Linked DNA regions of Homo sapiens: region 2 is linked to region 1. The links are contacts of gene promoters, found by promoter capture Hi-C in blood cells and fetal thymus (Javierre and others, 2016). All regions are on one chromosome and are shown on one strand. The core of a region is centred on a gene start or on the middle of the fragment in contact, and the rest is flanking DNA. Distances in the headings are between cores, read along the strand shown.

Region 1 (3,363 bases), core at 681-3,180:
ATCAGAGGTGATAATTCTCTTAGTATAACAGGGCTAATATCTTACCAAGATATTTGCTCTGAAAGAGCAAAATACTACCAGTATCAGAAAAGCTAGTATTTCCAGAAAGTACCTTCTGAGGACCTAGAGCTATCTGTTGTTTAGTGGAAGGTCAATACACAAGTTTATATTTCTTCAGAGATGAGCGAAAGATACAAGGAAGCCAGGTCCCAGTGGGTCACACACAGCTTTTCAAGCACGACACACATTACGGAAACATAAGACTGTGGCATTTCACACTCATCTAACTTCTCATTTGCAGACACCTGCCATTTAGCAAAATAAAGTGGGAGTCCAGAAAAAGGAGTACTTGGTAGTAGAAGACAGAGCTGCCTGTTGTATTTCAAAAAGTTAAGCCTTCAAAAACTTTTCAGACATGTGGGCGACTTTTTTTTTTTTTTTTTTTTTTTTTTTTTTTGAGACGGAGACTTACTCTGTTGCCCAGGCTGGAGTGCAGTGGCGAGATCTCGGCTCACTGCAACCTCTGCCTCCCAGGTTCAAGCGATTCTCCTGCCTCAGCCTCCCGAGTAGCTGGGATTACAGGAGCGTGTCACCACGCCCAGCTAATTTTTGTATAAAATTCTTCCTTGACCACCCTCTCCACCTCGAAAAAAAGTAAAGCCTTACTAAGCATGACACTAATGCAAACTCAATGCATACGCTACACAAACATATAACTCCTTATTTGGAGCTAATAATATTCCAAGCCAAGGAAACCTACAAATAATTTCGCTATAGTCATAGGAGAGTGTGAAGATACAAGATAGCAACTTGATATATAACTCACATCAAGAAAACTTTCACCAGCGTTTAAGGGAAAGGAGTTGTAGATGTGGGTCATTTAATACCCACTTCCAAATTCACTGAAGTGGACAGCGCCCTACACACAAGGTGAGACCTACAGGCATCATTGCTTTGAAGCTGCATTTAAGCTCTGAAGCTCCAATATTTATAGAAGACTTTTAAAACTTTGTAAGAAATCACAAAGTTCCCCTTCTTTAAAACAGATCAGTGCTGGGAAGGCTCAAAAGTCACTTTCACTCCCTTACCAAATCATCAAAAAGCCCGGAGTGGCAGGGCCGGGAGCCGAGCATCTCGCGCGCAGCCCCAGCCTGCACAGGTGCGGAGCTCGGGGGCGGCTGGGGGCTCTCGCCCCGCCGCGCGCAGCCTGGAGGCGGCCCCTGCCCTCTTGCGCCTCACCGCCGAGGCCCATGTCCCCTGAGCCACGGACACGGTTCAACAGACACATAAACACGTCTCGCAAATGTGGGGACAAACTGTTCCACCGTTAGGTATAGGGTGGTTTGCTTGGTGGTCACGGATTCTTTCTCAAAACGTGAAGCTTCCAGGAGCACTCCTGTCTTGGCAAAGCCCCTGCGCTGCCGATGAACCCCCCGGGAGGTGGGATGCGGCCGCTGAGCTGAGCACGACCCTCTGCCCTCGCCGTGAGGTGATGCTGAGGGAACCGCCAGCGGCCCGGCCCCTCTGCCAAGGGCGAATTTCCGCGGGCCGGCAGCGAGCCAGGCGCCTCAGGCCCCACGGCGACCTGGCCCGGGCTCTGCCCCCAGACCTTCCGCCGTGGCTGGGTGTGGGTGGCAAAGCCAAAACAGCCCTCTGAGGAGGGGAGCGACGCCCTCGCACCAGCCTTCTCAGGGCGGCGACGCCCCGGGTTGCTCCCCACCGGGTCGGAGTCCGGGGGGTATGAGGGACTCCCACTCCCCGCCCCCACCCCTCTCCGCAGCGCGCCTCCCGCACCTGCGCCGCCGCTTCCGGCCCCGCTGGCCTCCGACACTGCCCGCTGCGCCCGCAACCACGGGAGCACGTCCTTCCCGAGGTCGAAGTCGGCGACCAGGCGAAGAGCCATCGCCCGGACACGACCACCGGGCGGCTCTGGGGCCCCGCACCGCGGGCATTCCCGGCCCCGCGTGGCCGCCTCGCCCTCGCGTCCCCGCTCCCGCCCCCTCTTTCCTCTCCCCCGCCCCCTGCTGCTTTCGGTTCTGCAGCGCCCTGGCCTGAGAAGCTCCGGCACCAGCTCCTCCCGGCCGGCGGCCCGCACCTGAGCCGGAGCCGGAGCCGGGCACGGCGGGTAGCGGTGGGGCGGGGTGGACCAGGCGCCAGGACCAGGCCCGCCGGGGCGGGAGGCCTCCGCGCGCACCTTCGGGGCTGAGGATAGAGGGCGCAAAGACGTGGGCGCTTCAGGGCCTTGGCGAGGCCGCTAGCCCAGTGGCTTCCAAACCTGGAGGGTCGGCCTATTTTCTTTATTCTACAAGTGCCTCCACTGTGCAGCAAAGTGTGGAAACCACTTGGCTTGAGAGAGCTGGGTCCTCTGGAGCAGTTCAGGGTCACCACAGAAGTAGGCCGTCTCTTGGGCCTATTCGCCCCAGCTTCGAGGTGGTGGTGCTTTATTAGTGTTATTAAGGTAATGAGTAGCAACTGGGAGCGTATGACGAAGGTGATCCCATTGTAAGAGAAACGCTAAAAGGGGTTAATGCGCTTGATACAAACAGCGTCCTTTTTGCCTTTTAACTCTAGTACATCTCATTTGATGCCTTGAGACATGAAAACTGAATCTTAAGTCTCCACGCAAACCCTCTGCCTCCCACCAGGGTCTAACAGAGCACTCTGGAAGGTGCTCGACAATTACTGAAGAATGAGTGAATACAGTAATAAAGAATGCTTTTTCACATGCTTCCGAAATTAAGGTCTGAAAACTACTTGTATTGACGTCATCTGGGGCACTATTTTACAATGCAGACTCCTGATCTCTACACCTGGACAAGACCAGAAACGTGCATTTTACCCAGAGCCTCGGGTGATTCTTAGGCTTACTAAGTTTGAAAACTACTCCAACCAAATGTAAAAGAAAGTCTTGAATTTTTTTCCCTCCTAGAGACATGTTTCTCCAACTGAGGTAATGGATGATTTCAGGTAGAACTCCATTACTCACCACCATATACAGAGGAAAGTCCTCCCACCCGGGAAGTGCATGCAAATTTAAGATAAATGCCTAATGAAGCTGCTAATATTATCAGTGAATAAAAGGAAGGCCACTGGAGCCCCCAAGGAGCTAATGCAACTATTTCATATCAAATAAGCTTGTTGCCTTTGTCATACAGAAACACTGTTGGCCAATTTTTTAAAGTCAGTACATTTCCATTGTTTTTATTTTTGCAGTTAACTTCTATTTTTGCCAGGCAGGACTGATTTTATAGTCAAGCAGTGATGATATAAAAAATTCTCTTCAAATTAAGTGAAAAAGCCAATGTAAAGAAGGTGAGAAACAATAAGATAATGATAGAAAGATGTGGCCAAAATCATGAGGGT
Region 2 (3,027 bases), core at 299-2,798, 1.0 Mb before region 1:
CATTCTTTTTTTTTTTTTCTTCTTTTCTTTTTTTTTTTTCTTTTTCTTCTCTTCCTTTTTTTTTCTTTTTTTTTTTGAGATGGAGTTTCGCTCTTGTTGCCCAGGCTAGAGTGCAACAGCACGATCTCAGCTTACCACAATCTCTGCCTCCCAGGTTCAAGCGATTCTCCTGCCTCAGCCTCCTGAGTAGCTGGGATTATGGGCATGCGCCACCATGCCCGGCTAATTTTTGTATTTTTAGTAGAGATGGGGTTTCTCCATGTTGGTCAGGCTGGTCTCGAACTCCTGATCTCAGGTGATCCGCCTGCCTCGGCCTCCCAAAGAGTTAGAGCTGGGATTACAGGCGTGAGCCACAGTGCACGGCCAGTTTTTTTTTTGTTTTTTGGTTTTTTTTTTGAGACAGAATCTTGCTCAGTTGCCCAGGCTGGAGTGCAGTGGCGCGATCTCAGCTCACTACAACCTCCGCCTCCCAAGTTCAAGTGATCTCCTGCCTCAGCCTCCTGAGTAGCTGGGATTACAGACATGTGCCACCACGCCCGGCTAATTTTTGTATTTTTAGTAGAGACAGGGTTTCACCATGTTGGCCGGGCTGATCTCGAACTCCTGACCTCAGGTGATCCACCTGCCTCGGCCTCCCAAAGTGCTGGGATTACAGGTGTGATCCACCGCGCCCAGCTTCACCCCTGTTTTTTAAGACAAGGAAGCAGAGACACAGAGAGGCTGTGTGATCAGCCAAAAATCACACAGCCTCTCCGTGTCTCAGCTAACAGAGCCTGGATTCAAACCCGGGCAGACCTCCTAGACTCTTAGCAGCAAAGGCATTGTTTCCTGTCCAGGATCTACCCTCCTTGGCATCTGCTCAGGAAAGGAGTGACCAACCTGACCGAAGGGCACCCTCCAGCCCCTTCTCCAGCACTGGAGGACATGACCTTTTAAATGCATGCTGTCCGGCTCGGTTGGCAGACATGCAGGACAGCCAGGGACATGATTGTCCTGCTGTTTCTGTGCAGTCATAAATCACCGCAGCCCCATCCCCTGGCTTCTGGCTTCCTCCTGTGGCTGGAAAGCTCCCTGATTAGTGCAGAGGCAGCAGCAGCATCTTCTGAAGCCAAGCAGCAATGCTCCCCGCCCTGTCCTCTGGGAACACTTCCCTGTCACTGCCTTAGCAGGCTGTCCTGCAGCAGAGGCAAAGAATGACAGGAAATCTCTGCAACCTGCCTCTCCTTCTGAGGATCTCAGGCCAGTGGAGGAGGCATGAGCCCAGGAGGCAGGACCCACAGGTTGAAGCACTGGCTTTGCCATTAATCTTCCTGAGTGACCTTGGGCAAATCACTTTGCCTCTCTGGTTCTCAGATTGTGCATCTATAAAATAGAGGAACCAGGTGGATGCGTCTTAAGATCTTCCAGTTTATAGCAACAGCTTTTCAGCTAATGGCCCTGTCTCAGTGTCTTTCCATTCTCCCCAGTGAAAAATCCAAAATATCTTTTTTTTTTCTTCTGAGACAGGGTCATGCTCTATCGCCCAGGCTGGACTAGCAGCCTCGACCTCCTAGGTTCAGATGATCCTCCCGCCTTAGCCTTCAGAGCAGCTGGGAATACAGGCTCACACCACCACGCCCAGTAGAAAAAAATTTTCTATTTTTTTTTTTTTTTTTTGTGGAGATAGGGTCTATGTTTAGTTGTCCAAGCTGGTCCCAAATTCCTGGGCTCAAGCAATCCTCCTGCCTCTACCTCCCAAAGTGCTGGGATTATACATATGAGTCACCACACCTGGGCAGTCTGGGCTTTTTCTTTTCTTTTTTTTTTTTCTTTTCTTTCTTTTTTTTTGAGACAGAGTTTTGCTCTTGTTGCCCAGGCTGGAGTGCAATGGCACAATCTCAGCTCACCGTAACCTCCACCTCCCAGGTTCAAGCGATTCTCTTGCCTCAGTCTCCTGAGTAGAAGAGATTGCAGGCATGTGCCACCACGCCCAGGTAATTTTGTATTTTTATTAGAGATGGGGTTTCTCCATGTTGGTCAGGCTGGTCTCGAACTCCCGACCTCAGGTGATCTGCCCGCCTCGGCCTCCTAAAGTTCTGGGATTACAGGTGTGAACCACTGCGCCTGACCCAGTCTGGGCTTTTTCAAAAGCTGTTCCTTGTGCTGAAAGCTCCTTCTATGCCCACCCCCATTAGACCCAGACCTCCTCATCCTTCAGACTCAGACACTGAGTTGAACTAACCACTCTCTCCTCAGTCCCCATGGGCTCTCCTGCCATGTTCTCTAGAGAAGAGCCCAGACCACCATATAGCACTCAGATGTATATGAGTCTGTCTTCCCTGGGGTCATATTCCTGAAAGACATAGACTCAGTCTGAGCCATCTCTGATCTCCAAGCCTAGCATGGAGCAGGTGCTCAGCGAAGTTGTGTTCAATGAAGGAGACTCTCTGCTTTAAGAAGGGAATCAGGGAAGGCACTGTGGCTCACACCTGCAACCCCATAACCCCAGCACTTTGGGAGGCTGAGGTGGGAGGATCACATGACCCCAGGAGTTGGAGGCTGCAGTGAGCTATGATGGCGCCACTGCACTCCAGCCTGGGCAACACAGTGAGACGCTATCTCAAAAAATTTTTAAAAAACAAAACAAAACAAAACAAAAACAATTTTTTAAAAGGAGACCAGGTGCAGTGCCTCATGCCTATAATCCCAGCACTTTGGGAGGCCAAGGCGGGTGGATAACTTGAAGTCAGGCATTCAAGACCATTCTGGCCAACATGATGAAACCCTGTCTCTACTAAAAATACAAAAATTAGCCAGACGTGGTGGTACACGTCTGTAATCCCAGCTACTTGGGGAGGCTGAGGTTGGAGAATTGCTGGAACCTGGGAGGCAAAGGTTGCAGTGAGCTGAAATCACGCCACTGTACTCCAGCCTGGGTGACAGAGCAAGACTCCTTTAAACAATAAAATAAAATTATCCCACCAAGGGAATGTGTGTCACCATGAAAAAAATGGGCCACTGTCTCAAAGAGACAAGTATGTTCAAGAG

The links. The method cuts DNA at HindIII sites, captures the fragments that hold promoters and counts their contacts. A CHiCAGO score of 5 or more calls a contact.
Region 2: a fragment that was not itself captured here is called in contact with the fragment with the promoter of GSAP in region 1 in 1 of 17 cell types (M0 macrophages); the score reaches 6.0 in M0 macrophages.

The regions. Positions count from the first base shown.
Region 1 is chr7:77,414,419-77,417,781 of GRCh38, forward strand. GSAP (gamma-secretase activating protein) reads right to left here and starts at 1,931. Exons shown (of 31, transcript NM_017439.4): 1 at 1,795-1,931. The coding sequence starts at 1,903. LOC101927243 (a long non-coding RNA gene) reads left to right here and starts at 780. Exons shown (of 5, transcript NR_110073.1): 1 at 780-930. RefSeq lists silencers at 1,097-1,386, 1,447-1,656, 1,877-2,226. The HindIII fragment of the contact is 1,753 bases long and covers 1,380-3,132 here.
Region 2 is chr7:76,365,036-76,368,062 of GRCh38, forward strand. No RefSeq gene overlaps it. Among named protein-coding and RNA genes, the nearest start is that of YWHAG, 7.6 kb to the left of the region's middle. RefSeq lists an enhancer at 1-134. The HindIII fragment of the contact is 7,431 bases long and covers 1-3,027 here.